Regions from separate parts of the Homo sapiens genome. Here region 2 is linked to region 1. The links are contacts of gene promoters, found by promoter capture Hi-C in blood cells and fetal thymus (Javierre and others, 2016). All regions are on one chromosome and are shown on one strand. The core of a region is centred on a gene start or on the middle of the fragment in contact, and the rest is flanking DNA. Distances in the headings are between cores, read along the strand shown.

The links. Contacts are between HindIII fragments. The CHiCAGO score rates a contact against its expected background, and 5 or more counts as called.
Region 2: a contact is called between a fragment that was not itself captured here and the fragment with the promoter of BEST4 in region 1, in 1 of 17 cell types (neutrophils). The highest score is 6.4, in neutrophils.

Annotation. Positions count from the first base shown.
Region 1 is chr1:44,783,704-44,790,120 of GRCh38, forward strand. It overlaps BEST4 (bestrophin 4), which reads right to left and starts at 4,467. Exons shown (of 9, transcript NM_153274.3): 1 at 3,851-4,467; 2 at 3,669-3,763; 3 at 2,760-2,993; 4 at 2,371-2,525; 5 at 1,896-1,973; 6 at 1,405-1,602; 7 at 1,202-1,282; 8 at 926-1,080; 9 at 1-780. The coding sequence starts at 4,002. The coding sequence ends at 507. RefSeq lists silencers at 470-819, 2,669-2,798 and enhancers at 2,324-3,009, 2,919-3,008, 3,010-3,695. The HindIII fragment of the contact is 5,761 bases long and covers 1,508-6,417 here.
Region 2 is chr1:45,016,273-45,022,110 of GRCh38, forward strand. It overlaps ZSWIM5 (zinc finger SWIM-type containing 5), which reads right to left. Exons shown (of 14, transcript NM_020883.2): 12 at 4,353-4,516; 13 at 3,794-3,875; 14 at 127-3,044. The coding sequence ends at 2,182. Among named protein-coding and RNA genes, the nearest start is that of UROD, 6.9 kb to the left of the region's middle. The HindIII fragment of the contact is 2,051 bases long and covers 1,999-4,049 here.

The DNA of each region.
Region 1 (6,417 bases), core at 3,217-5,716:
ACCCCTTCAAGCACGTTTCACATGACTCTCAAATTGTGTTTCCTGGACAAGCAGCACAGCATCACCTGGGAACTTGTTAGAAATGCAAGTTATTGGGCGCCATCCCAAATCTAACGTGCCAGAAATGCTGGGAGTGGTGCCCAGCACTCTTTTGACAAGACCTTCCGTGATGCTGATCCTTCCTTAAGTTTGAGAACCAATGGCCTAGCTCCCTGTTGCTGTGAAGCTAACCGTGCACCTGGGCTCTAGTCCTCTATGCCTGGGCTCATTTATTTTTCTAGCTTCACGTCCCCCAAGCAACCGACCTTCTCTCCCACCAAAGTGGACACATTCCCAGCCCTGGCTCAGGCCCTTTTCGCCATCTTCTCTTTCAAGTTCTGTCCCTAAATGCTCTGGCCTTCAAGGCACACAGGAAAAGCTGCTCTAATAGAGCTGGCTGGCAGGACCGGGCACGGGAGGGAAGGAGGGCAGTGGGTGGGGGAAACCGGGCGGGGGCAGGCGAGACCTCAGGGCTCCAGGGCCTCGTCCCCGGACTCCGCCGATTCCTCCTCGATGCGGGCTGCGGCCTCGGGGTCGCCGCCCTCCTCCGCCCGGAAGCGCAGCAGATGCGGGGGGCGGGGGGTGCCTCGCACGCGGCCGAAGTTCCGGAGGCTGATGGCCGGGGAGGGCGCCCCTACGCCCAGGAAGCGGCCGAGCAACGGGGTCTGCGCGGCGGGCGCGGGCCGACCAGATCCGGGGGACGCCTCCACCTGCAGGCTCTGCTCAGGGTCGTCGCTCATGCTGCGGGCGGGAGGGCGGGCTGAGCCGGGGCACAGGGCGGGAGCGGGGACGCGGGATCGGCTCTCGGGGAAGGACCGAGGCATCGGTGCCCCAGAGGCTGAGCGAGGACCCGCGTGCCGGGTCAGGCCCAGTGCAAGCCACTCACCGCAGGTTGAAGGTGGAGCCCAGGAATGAGGGCCGCAGAGACTCGGCCGCCGTGGCCACAGTGTAGGGTGGCTGCGGCTGGTCCTCATCCCAGTACTGGTCCTTCTCAGCGGGGGGAAGGTTCTGGTACATTTCGTCCACGGATAGCAGGGACACCTGGGCCACCAGCAAGTTACAAGGATCCTCCTCTCCTCTCCTTCCCACGGCCGGGCTGAGAGCTGACCGGGAGAGGGGGCCCAGGAGCTGCCCTGGACTCCTGATCCTGATGCTTGCTCACCTGCAAGTTGCGGTCTATGAGCTGATTTGTCTCAAAGTCGTCATCATCCTCACCAAATGGGTTGATGATCTGTTCAGCCACCTATAGGTGGCAGAGACAGGGTTTTCTGGGTTCAGAGCCCCACTCTTTTTCCCCAAAGTCGGGGCAGCCCCTCTGCCCACATCTCCACAGAGCAGGCTGGCATGCCCATCTGCAGTGCCCACCTTGAGCCAGCCAGCATAGAAGAAGAACTGCAGCAGAGTGGTGAGAGGCACGTACATGTCCGGGTCTCCCAGGGCTGGGGCTGGCTCCTGGCCTGGCTTCAGAAGCTTCTGAGGTTTGGCAGCCCCTGCCTCTGGCTCCACAAACTGGCGGCCAACCAGGGAGAGGGCAAAGAAAGAGTAGACGGCTATGGTCACCACCTGGAGAATGAAGAGCCAGGCTCAGTGCAGGATGCAGCGGGCCAAGGAGAAATGCTGCCCCTGCCTCTGAGGATCTATGGGAAGTCTGACAAGTAATCAAACATGTATCCTGGTGTGGCAGTACCAGTGGGGACAGGGTCACCTTGTTGGGGGTGGTGGGGGGCTTTTAGGATGAACCCGGTGCCTCAGGGGACTGAAATGGCCAGGCAAGTACCATCGCTAATTCTTCTCATCTCACACACAGCACAGGACATACAGTAGGCACTGGGACTCGGGAGGGGAGAGGCAGTTACTTGGGTGTAGACGAGGGGGATGCTGATCCAGTCATAGTGGAATAGCATGCTGCACTTGGCTCGGTACTTGTTCAGCTCCTGGGGGAACAGCAGGAACAGGAAGTCAGCAGAGGTGAGGAAGGAACAGGGGTGCCCAGCACAAACTAGGCCTGGGCCTGGCCAGGAGGCTCTTTCTCATTCTGCCCTCAGAGGTGTATTAAGATGGGGTGCTTGAATCCCAGCTCTGCTAACTAGCTGTGTAACTTAGGCAAATTTCTTTTCTACTCTGTGCCTCAGTTTCCACATCTGTGCAAGGAGGATGATAGTACCTATGTCAAGAGTTGCTGTAAGGGATGAATGAGTTAACATGGGTACAGGGCTTCCAAAAGGCTGGGGTACACAGCTGATGCCATACAACTGTTAGGTATTAAAATTATTATTCATCTTTAAAATTAGAGGGAGGAGGGCAGATGGGTCTGGTCCTGAGCCCACTCACTTCCAAAAGTAGACAGAGAGCGATATCGTCACGTATTCGCCCGTCCCTCCGGGCCTGGGCCGCCAGGTTGGTGAACCAGACGCAGGGGACCCAGTACTTGTTGAAGTCGGATTTCAGGCTCTCAAACTTTTTCCTCTCTTCCTGGGACATGAAACCTGAGGGGGTAAAGCAGGTGGGGTGCAGTTGCACCCTCTGCCGCCAGGGGAGGCTGCTGTTCCGCCGTCTGGCTCCCCTCCCTCGCGTCCACCGGCTGTCCCAGGACTCGCGGTTCCGCGTTCCTGTCGCAGTCCAGACCCTTCCCTGGAGGCCCCTGCTCCCAGGACTCTCCCAGGCGCCACCTGCATCCGGCTGTGGGCCGGACCCCCAGAGGCTCCCGGCGGGCGGCGCACCTGCGTCCACCACGTGCTCCATGGTGGGGAAGCGCTTAAGCACGCGGGTGCTGACCGAGCGCAGCACCAGCACGGACGCCAGGTTCGCGTAGCGGATGAGGGTGCGGCGCAGCAGGCGGCCCCGCTGGTCCACGCCGTGCACGCTAGCCGAGATGACGCACATCAGCTGGTCTGGCAGCGGGATGCTTGTGTACTGGGACCACCAGCGGTTCACCACGAGAGTCACATAGAAACCTGCTTGGCCGCCGTGATAGAGGGAGTAGGAAGGGAGAGTGGAGAGCCTGGGGGTCGGAGCGCCTCACCTCCCCCAGCAAAGGGCCTGGTCCAGGCCAGTTGAATCGTGGCAGGGGGAAGGAAACATTCAGCTCCAGTGCCCTGCTGTGCGAGGCCAGGAGGAGGGAGGAGGGCAAACTTCCTTCAGCAGAGGGAAAGTGGGGATTCAAAGCCAGGAGACTGCTTCCCAGGAGGGTGGGGAAGGGGTTGTCACCTCTGTCCAGCTCCCCTGCAGTGCCCAGGGTGGGCTTGTGAGGCCAGCAGGTGTCTTGTGCCTTGCTGGAAGTGAGGGTCCGGCAAGTGATAGGGCCCTGCCCTCTGGAAGTCCTGGACCCAGCACCCAGCTCCTGTGCCTGCTGGGCCTGCTCTGGCTGACCAGGAAGGCTCTGCCACCGTGTTGAGTAATTCTTTTTTTTTTTTTTTTTTTTTTTAGCAGAGTCTCGCTACATTGCCCAGGCTGGACTGGAACTCCTGGGCTCAAGCGATCCTCTCACCTCAGCCTCTCGAGTAGCTGAGACTGCAGGTGTGTCACCACACCATCTGTTGGGTAATTCTGACCCTCGGAGCTGTCAACCCAACCCAGAGGTCAGGGAACACAGTAAGGGGGACACAGGGAAAACTAGAAGGGAGCCTTACCCAATACAAAGGACAAGGGAATGAGGTCTGCTGAGCGGTTGCAGTACCGGGCCACCTGAGCATACACGTACCTCTGCTCCTGGGTCAGCAGCAGCCTGGGGAAGGCAGGTGTAGGCTTGGGTTAGAGGGAGGTGGGTGGCCCAGTCTCCCCACTTGCGCCAGCTCTAAGACCCTGCCCTTACCGGTAGGTGATGCTAAGCACAGCGTACAAGGCCCCAAAGAGGAGGAATTCCTTGTAGAGGAGCTTGTAGATGCTTCCCCTCCAGCGGAGAAGCAGGCCAGAGAAACCTCCGAAGCGGGCCTCCGCCACTTTGAGAGTGTATGAAACCGTCATGGTGCTGGGAGCCTGGGGCAGGAGGTCACAAGAGTTGCCCCCAGGGCTGTCGTTTAGTTCTCCAGACAACCTCCCTTCCACTCTGGTCTCACACACCCCAGCCTTCACCCTGCGTCAGTGGACAAGGGGGTAGGAGCCTGCAGAGCAGAAAAGTACACCCCACCCCCTGCAGAACTGAGCAGTACATGGGCAAAGCCAGGCTAGAGTTGGACAAGGTAGAACTGAGATCTGTGTCCCTTCATGCATGAGGTTTCCTCAAGCTCCTCTTCAGCCTGCAGGGCTAGGGATAACCAGATCCTGAACTGCTGCGGACAAGAGACGCAGCTCCAGCCCAAATCCACTGCTATTCCTTGGGGCCTTGCTTTGGAAGCTGATTAACTAGAACTACCAGGGCCCAGGGCACTCTCACCCCCATCCCATACCTGCCTACCTGCTCTGGGCAGCAGCCCGTGTGGAAGATGAACTGGGCTAGACTTCAACCCCCACAGACTTAAGTACCTCTGCAGTCCATAAAGTTAGGCTGGACTGAGGCCTATCATTGATGGATTGAAGCTGTCATCCAGCTTCCCCTGGTGCTGGGAACTGGGTGTGTCTCCTTACCCCTGTAGGGTTGGGCTGGCCTTCGAGTGGCAGAAATGCCAGCTATACTGACCCCACAGCTCACACAGACGACACCATGTCCTTCAAGCCAGTATGACAGGGGTTATTGTCCCACGTTTCAGGTGGGAAGACAGATGCATGATAAACTGTTATAATAATACCAGCTGCTGATCACAGAGCACTGACTAAGTGACAGGAACCATGCCAAGGGCACTACTAGGTCATCCTCTCAAGAAATCCTCATCACAGCACCATGAGGTAGGGAATCAATCATCCACATTTCACAGATGAGGCTCCAAGAGGTAAATGACTTGCCCGCCGTCGGCCATACAGCTAGAACATGTTGGAGGCAGGATTCAAAGCCAGGGCTGATGGACTTCCAAGGCTGGAAGTGGCCTAGCAAAGGCATGAGCTCCAGGACCCATCCTGTGCACTGGCCACACTCCCAGTCTTCTTGTACAGGGGCTTGGGGGCTTGGCCAGGCTCTTCTCCATCCATGCCACGGGGCTGACAGCCACAGATCTGGAAGCTCAGGCCTAGGAGTGCAGGCTCCGTTAAGCCCTGTGTCCAACATCCTGACTCCTAGGGGTGCCCAAGATTTGAGTGGCCACTTTCACCTCTGGAGGAAGTAATACCTAAGGCGCTGATAGAAATAGAACTTCCGCTGCCAGGCAAGGTGGCTCACACCTGTAATCCTAGCACTTTGGGCAGCCTCAACGCAGGTGGATCACTTGAGGTCAGGAGTTCGAGACTAGCCTGGCCCAACATGGTGAAACCCTGTCTCTACTAAAAATACAAAAATTAGCCGGGTGTGGTGGCACGAACTTGTAATCCCAGCAGGTACATGGGAGGCTGAGGCAGGAGAATTGCTTGAACCTGGGGAGGCGCAGGTTGCAACGAGTTGAGATCGTGCCACTGCACTCTAGCCTGGGTAATCAAAAAAAAAAAAAAAAGAAAAGAAAGAAAGAAAAAGAAAAAGAAAAAGAAATAGAATCTCAATGGGAGAATCGCTTGAACCCGGGAGGGAGAGGTTGCAGTGAGCTGAGATTGTGCCACTGCACTTCAGCTTGGGTGACAGAGACTCTGTCTCAAAAAAAAAAAAAAAAAAAAAGGCCAGGCACTGTGACTCACGCCTGTAATCCCAGCACTTTGGGAGGCCGAGGCAGGCGGATCACCTGAGGTCGGGAGTTCGAGATCAGCCTGACCAACATGGAGAAACCCCATCTCTACTAAAAATACAAAATTAGCTGAGCATGGTGGCACATGCCTGTAATCCCAGCTACTCCGGAGGCTGAGACAGAAGAATCGCTTGAACCTGGGAGGTGGAGATTGCGGTGAGCCGAGATCATGCCATTGCACTCCAGCCTGGACAACAAGAGCAAAACTTTGTCTCAAAAAAGAAAAAGAAAAAGAAAAAAGAAAAGAAAAGAAATAGAACCTCAAAGTGGAAGAGAATTGGCAGCTTACTTACCCTCCCAGTGCTGAGGTAAGTGAACACTGAAAAATCCCAAGAGTGGTGGTCCTGCCTCTGTCTTGTTTTGGGAAGCTCCTCCCCCTACACTGTGAGCTGGTTCTCTTCTGCAAGTTTCCTAAAGATAGGAAGCATAGAGAGGTGATTAGGAGCACAGGCTTGGGAATTGGACAAACCTGGGTCTGAACCCCAGCTCTTTGTAACTGTGCAAGTTACCTAATCTCTCTGAACCTCAGTTTCCTCCTCTGCAAATCAGAATCAAGAACGCCTAACCTCATGGGGCAATTTTGAGTATTCACAGAAACAATGCCTATGGCCTAAAGCACTGTGGGTGGTTGGCTTGG
Region 2 (5,838 bases), core at 1,774-4,273, 230 kb after region 1:
CAGTCATTCTGCATCTCCTTAGACCACTAGGCACCCACTGTGCTGTAGGCTGAACCAGCTCCCTGGCCCAGCCAGGGCAATGCAGAAAGGAGAGATGGGTTTCATTTAGTGAGAGAACACAATTTCTGCTTTTAGAAAAATGATCTTTTATGTGATCCATGATTTATTCATAGAAAAGCACTGTGAATTCACACACTTGCTAAAAAAGGGCAACTGTGATACAGAAATGAGAGTGGCTTCTCTCTTTTTTTTAACCAACCCATTGGGCTGAGACGTAGGGGCCCTTGGCTGGACAGTAAGACTTGAGTAGCCACAAATGGCAAATACAACTTCTTGGTCAGTTTGGAGTAAAAAAGGTGACAGTTTGTCGAAGAAAGAAAAAGTAAAGCAGATGGAGAAGTTCTTAGTTCACATTCTAGCTATACCACCCCTTCCCTATCAAACCCCACCCCCAACTCAGGAACTAAGACATGAAACAGTAAACACCAAGACACTGGTTCCAACTGACTTTTCTGAGTGCCCTTGCTACCTCCTATAACAATTCCAGGCTGAGCACAGGGGTCAGGAAGGTAGCAGGAACATGATACACTATGGAGGTCAGCCAGGGCTAAGACAGGACTGCCCACTAGGGCTAGAAATTAGGAAGGGAGAGGCTAAGTGCAGACCAGCCCTAGCCTCCAAGTCAGCGAGCAATGAGACTGTGACAAAAGCCGGCGAGGAAGCTTGAGGTAGAAAGGCAGGGGAAGAAAGCAAGTATGAGGCGAGAAGAGAACTATGGAGCTAAAGCAGCCAATCTGATGGCAGAGGGAGATTGGTGCTTAGAAGCTTGTTTGGTGAGAGAATGAATAGAGGAGGCACAGAGATGGGGAACAAACGTTTAGCTGGCGAGAGAGATTTAAGAGGAATGGGAAAGAGAAATCTGGCAAAAAGGACACATTGATGCAGATCCTCAAACATGAATACACAGACATCCCTACATGTAGAAATACGCTCAGTTACACATATAAAGACACAGATGCATGGATAACAAGCATACACATGGATACAAACATGTTTATACACATGCACTCGTGTACGCAGATACACATACTAAACATGCACAAACATGAGTGCATTTGCACAAAGATGTGCATCCTCACATGTACACAAAATGTGTATATCCTCACGTAGAAACTCACAGTCCAGTGTGCACATATTCAAACAGGTACACAGCCATAGAACTGACACATACACATAAATATATATGTGCACAAACAGGCATGCACAGATGTATCTATGTACATACACACATGTACTTAGCCATAAAGATACACACACACAATTATAGATGAAACCACACACTTGCTAACACAAAGGTGACCACAGTAGATGAATATTATGAACTCAGCGGCTTCCCAGACCTTCATCTTCTCCCTGCACTTGTTTCTCAGGTGTTCAGCAGGCTCCTGAAGAGGCTGTGTGAGGCAGGAGCTTCAATGTCCTCACAGTTTTGTGAGGCAAAAGTCTAAGTCCAGTCCTGGCCTCTGTCCCTCACTCACCACTGGACTATAAATGCCCTGTCTGTAGGTGGGGGATTCTGCATAGACTAGACTTGGGTTGATCCTAACTGGCCATTTTTCTCCTTGGCACCCCCACTCTTCCACTGCTACCAGCAAACACTCTGCAAGGGAAACCTGAGAAATGGTTGTGAGTCTCCTCAGAAAATAAGCATATCCTCCTACCCACAGCTACTTCAAGTGCCCATCAAATCAGAAGCAGAATTATAAATAGTTACAAGTTTACAATAATTAGCAACACATATAGTATTTACAGTCCCACAAATGTGTCTGTTTCTCTGGTTAAGCAATCCCTGAGATGGAACAGTGTTCTGTGTTTGCCAAGGGAGACAGGGCCAATGCTCAGGACACGCAGGATATAGGGGCATGAGGTGGCATGTTGTGGGGTTTCTGGTCGATCTGCAGGGCCCAGCTCCTCCATGAACAGTAGGCTGTAGTCAGAAGCTTGCCAAGGTAGGCATTATCGACTAGAGCTGGACTTTCCCCATCCTTAGCCCTGTGGTCCTTTGGCCTCATCCACAGGTGCTCAGAGTTCTCTCAGGGTGGACAAATGTTTCAGTGCCCTTGGCCTGACCTGATACTACCTGGGAACCCAGGCTGCTCTGGCAGTGAGCTATCTGCTCTCTCAGCCAAAGCGCTCTCGCACCAGCAGCATCAACTTTTTCTTGCCTTTGTAGATCTGTTTGAGGTTGTCGATGAACTGGGCAAACTGCAGGTGGCCATCCTGGGGCAGCAGGAAGGTCTCCCGAGCCTTGCTTAGAAACTCAATGAACTCTCCATAGTGGCGAGGGCTGATGTGTGTTAGGCGTGAGTGTGTAGTGTTGATATAGGCATTGATGGTGGCATCCAGCAACTGGCGCAATGGAGCTTTGTCAGTGGACATGAGCTTTCCAGAGCTTCGGCGGCCTGGGATGCCGGCCAGGCCAGGTGCAGTCACTGTGCAGCGTCGTAAGATGTCTGAAAGCACTGTGGCACAGTGCACACTCTTCACCACCAGGGGGATGAGAGCTGCCAGCTCATTCTTGCCCAGAGAGTGGCTGAGAGCACAAGCCCAGAGCACATCATTGATGGCTGGGTGAGTATCCTGGTTGTAGGCCAGGTTAAGATGGCTCATGGCCAATGAGGCCAGCTTGAAGGCACGTAGCGGGTAGCCACGGAGCTCCATGTAGCGGGCGATGGTGAACAGCTGTGAATGGGTCATACCACCAGCAGCAGCATCAATGGCAATCTGGTAGGCTGCCTCAAAGGCAATGTGGTCTTTCTCACAGAGTGTAAGGGCTGACAGGGCACAGCTCTGTGGATCCTTCATAGCACACTGTAGAGCCAGTGTGCGAGCACAGCTAGCCAGTTCCTCCCGCTGTGGATAGTCAAGACTGAGGCGCAGGATAGTGGTGTGGGATACGGCTGTGGCAGCTACAATACTAGTAGCCTCAGTAGGGGTGAAGAGTGTGTACCAGCTCTGCAAGATGCTCACCAGGGCCCGCACACCTGTCAGGGGGAGCCTGAGCTCAGCCGTGGCCATCTGGGTCCTGATTCAGGTCTACCCAGATTACCATTTGGGGTTTGAACTTGGCCTGCAGAGATGAATTCTTCCTCCTCAGCAACCTTGAGATGATATGAGGCAAACCAGGGCAAGGGGAGCATCCCAGATGGCCAGACCCTGTTTGGGGTCTCTTCCTATCCCTTCTTTCCCCAGGTCAGAGAGTTGAAGGTTTCTGCAGGTGCTCTTAGCCCCTCACAAGGATGGGACAGTAGAGCCTGGGGTTTGCTTGCCCTGAGGCATGGGTTACAGATCTGCCAGGGGTTCTAGCTGAAGTGGGGCCTCTCAGGGTAGAGTCTTGTGCTGGGGCTTTGGGCTTTAGAAAGGGTCCTGAGCCTCTAAGTTGTCTGGAGTTTTTTACAAGCATGCACAGGGATGGGGACCAAACCACTGGGCCCACTACCTCCCAAGGGAGCACTTGAGTAGCAACTGAAAATTCATTCTCTTAGACATGTCTCTGTTGAGAGGATCAAGGGCTGCTGACATCAGGATATGGTTCAAGCAGTGAAGACAGGGCTTGGGCTGGCTGAACAGAGGCCACCTTCTCCTACCAGCAGCCCCATCCTTTCTTAGGCCATCTCCTGATGGACCTAAGATCTCATAGGAATATGAGAGCTCTAAGGATTGATTGTCCTGTCCCAAGAGTAGGGCCTAGAAACTCCTTTCCCCTGGGGGTAGAGGGAGGTGGGAGACTCACCCACTTCTGTAGCACAGGTCACCAACCATCGTACCATCTCCCTGCGTCTCCAGTTAAGGGTTGATAAGGTCATCCGCATCACCTGGGCACAAAAGAGGCCTTTCCAGTGGGCTATGCCTAACTGTTGTGACCTCTCCCTCCCCTTGCATTCATTTATGCGACAAATATTTTCTGGTGCTTTAAACAGTGGTCTCTCCGCTGATAAACATAAAATACAGTTAATTTCTTTCCCAGCCCTCCCACCAATCAGATAGGAAGCTTCTCTGATGATCTGCAGCAAAGTCCTTATTATCATACCTTGCTTGACTTGTAGAAATGGGGAGGTAGAGAGAAGATAGGGACCCCAGGGAGCCTAAAGCTTTATCTTGCTTCTGGCCTTAACTTAAAAGTGGAGCCCAATTTATGAAATCCTTGCCTTTTCCCTAGCCTAGAACTTGTGTTCTGGGCCCAAAGGAAGAGCCAGACTTGGCCTATGCCCAGTCTCCCAGAGATCTTATCTTCTGCCAACTGTCACTAGGTCAGCGGTCTAAACTGTGGATGGCCTACTCTTCCTCCATACCTGTAACCCAAGTTCCAGGGCAACGTTGAGCAGGGTGCTGTCAGTACTACTGTCGGTGGGAGTAGCAATCTTGAATGCATCTTGGGCCAGTTTGAAGATGAGGGAGGAAGAATGAATGTGCTTCTGTATTGCTTCCAGAATTGTTCGGAGTCTCAAAGTGTCTCCTATAGGTGTCAAGAGAAGGGGCAGGGTCTATTTTAAAGTTTTACTAAACAGTCAGCTGACTGCAATAGATACTCATTGAAATGGCTGCTATCAATTCATTGAATGCTTCTGAATGCTACCGCCCCTTCTGGGTTATCGAGCTGTCTCCACTAATCACATTTGAGGCTCCTTCCTTCCCCAGACCCCCATGTGAATCCTATTCTCTCCACCTTTTCATCTGTCTCTACCTAATACCCTCTACCCTCAGGATCCTTTTTTTTTTTGGAGACGGAGTCTTGCTCTGTTGCCCAGGCAGGAGTGCAGTGGCTTGATCTCGGCTCACTGCAAGCTCTGCCTCCCGGGTTCACACCATTCTCCTGCCTCAGCCTCCTGAGTAGCTGGGACTACGGGCGCCCGCCACCACGCCCGGTTAATTTTTTGTATTTTTAGTAGAGATGGGGTTTCACCGTGTTAGCCAGGATGGTCTCGATCTCTGACCCTATGATCTACTGCGCCGGGCAACCCTCAGGATCTTTAGGTACCAGAAATAATTTTCTTGAACACCTTAATTTCCAGAGCTACTTATACAGTAGACAGAAAGTCACATTACTGCCAAAAAAGAACGGCAGTCCCACTGTCTGCTTCTCACTACAGCACCCTGGGGCAAAAAGGAGCGGGGCCACCACTTCTTATTCAATAGGCAGGGATTCTATACAAAAAACAAAGAGTTAAGGAATATAACATCATATGAGGTGAAGGTTGCTGGATGAAGGCAGTAGTGTATGAAAGACTGTTATATCTTATAAAGGACAAATACATTAAGTAAAGATAAAACAAAAAGTAGGCCTTATGTTTTGCTTTGTAACTGCTGATAAAGTCAAAGAGAAGGAATGGTATGACTACAGGCTTTGGAATAAAACACATTGGGGACCGAACCTGGTTCAGCCATTTAAGAGTTTAACAACTTCAGGTTGGGCGCAGTGGCTCTCGCCTGTAATCCCAGCACTTTGGGAGGCTGAGGTGGGTGAATCACTTGAGGTCAGGAGTTCGAGACCAGCCTGGCCAACATGGTGAAACCCCGTCTCTACTAAAAAAATACAAAAATTAGCCAGGCATGGTGGCGTGAGCCTGTAGTCCCAGCTACTAAGGAGGCTGAGGCAGGAGAAGAGCTTGAACCTGGGAGGCGGAGGTTGCAGTGAGCCAAGATTGGGCCACTGCACTCCAGCCTGGGTGACACAGTGAGACTCCGTCTCAAAAAAAAAAAAATAAATAAGAGTTCAATAACTTCATCTATAAAATGGAAACAATTGTTGTGAGAATTATAAAAAATTTGTAATATTCT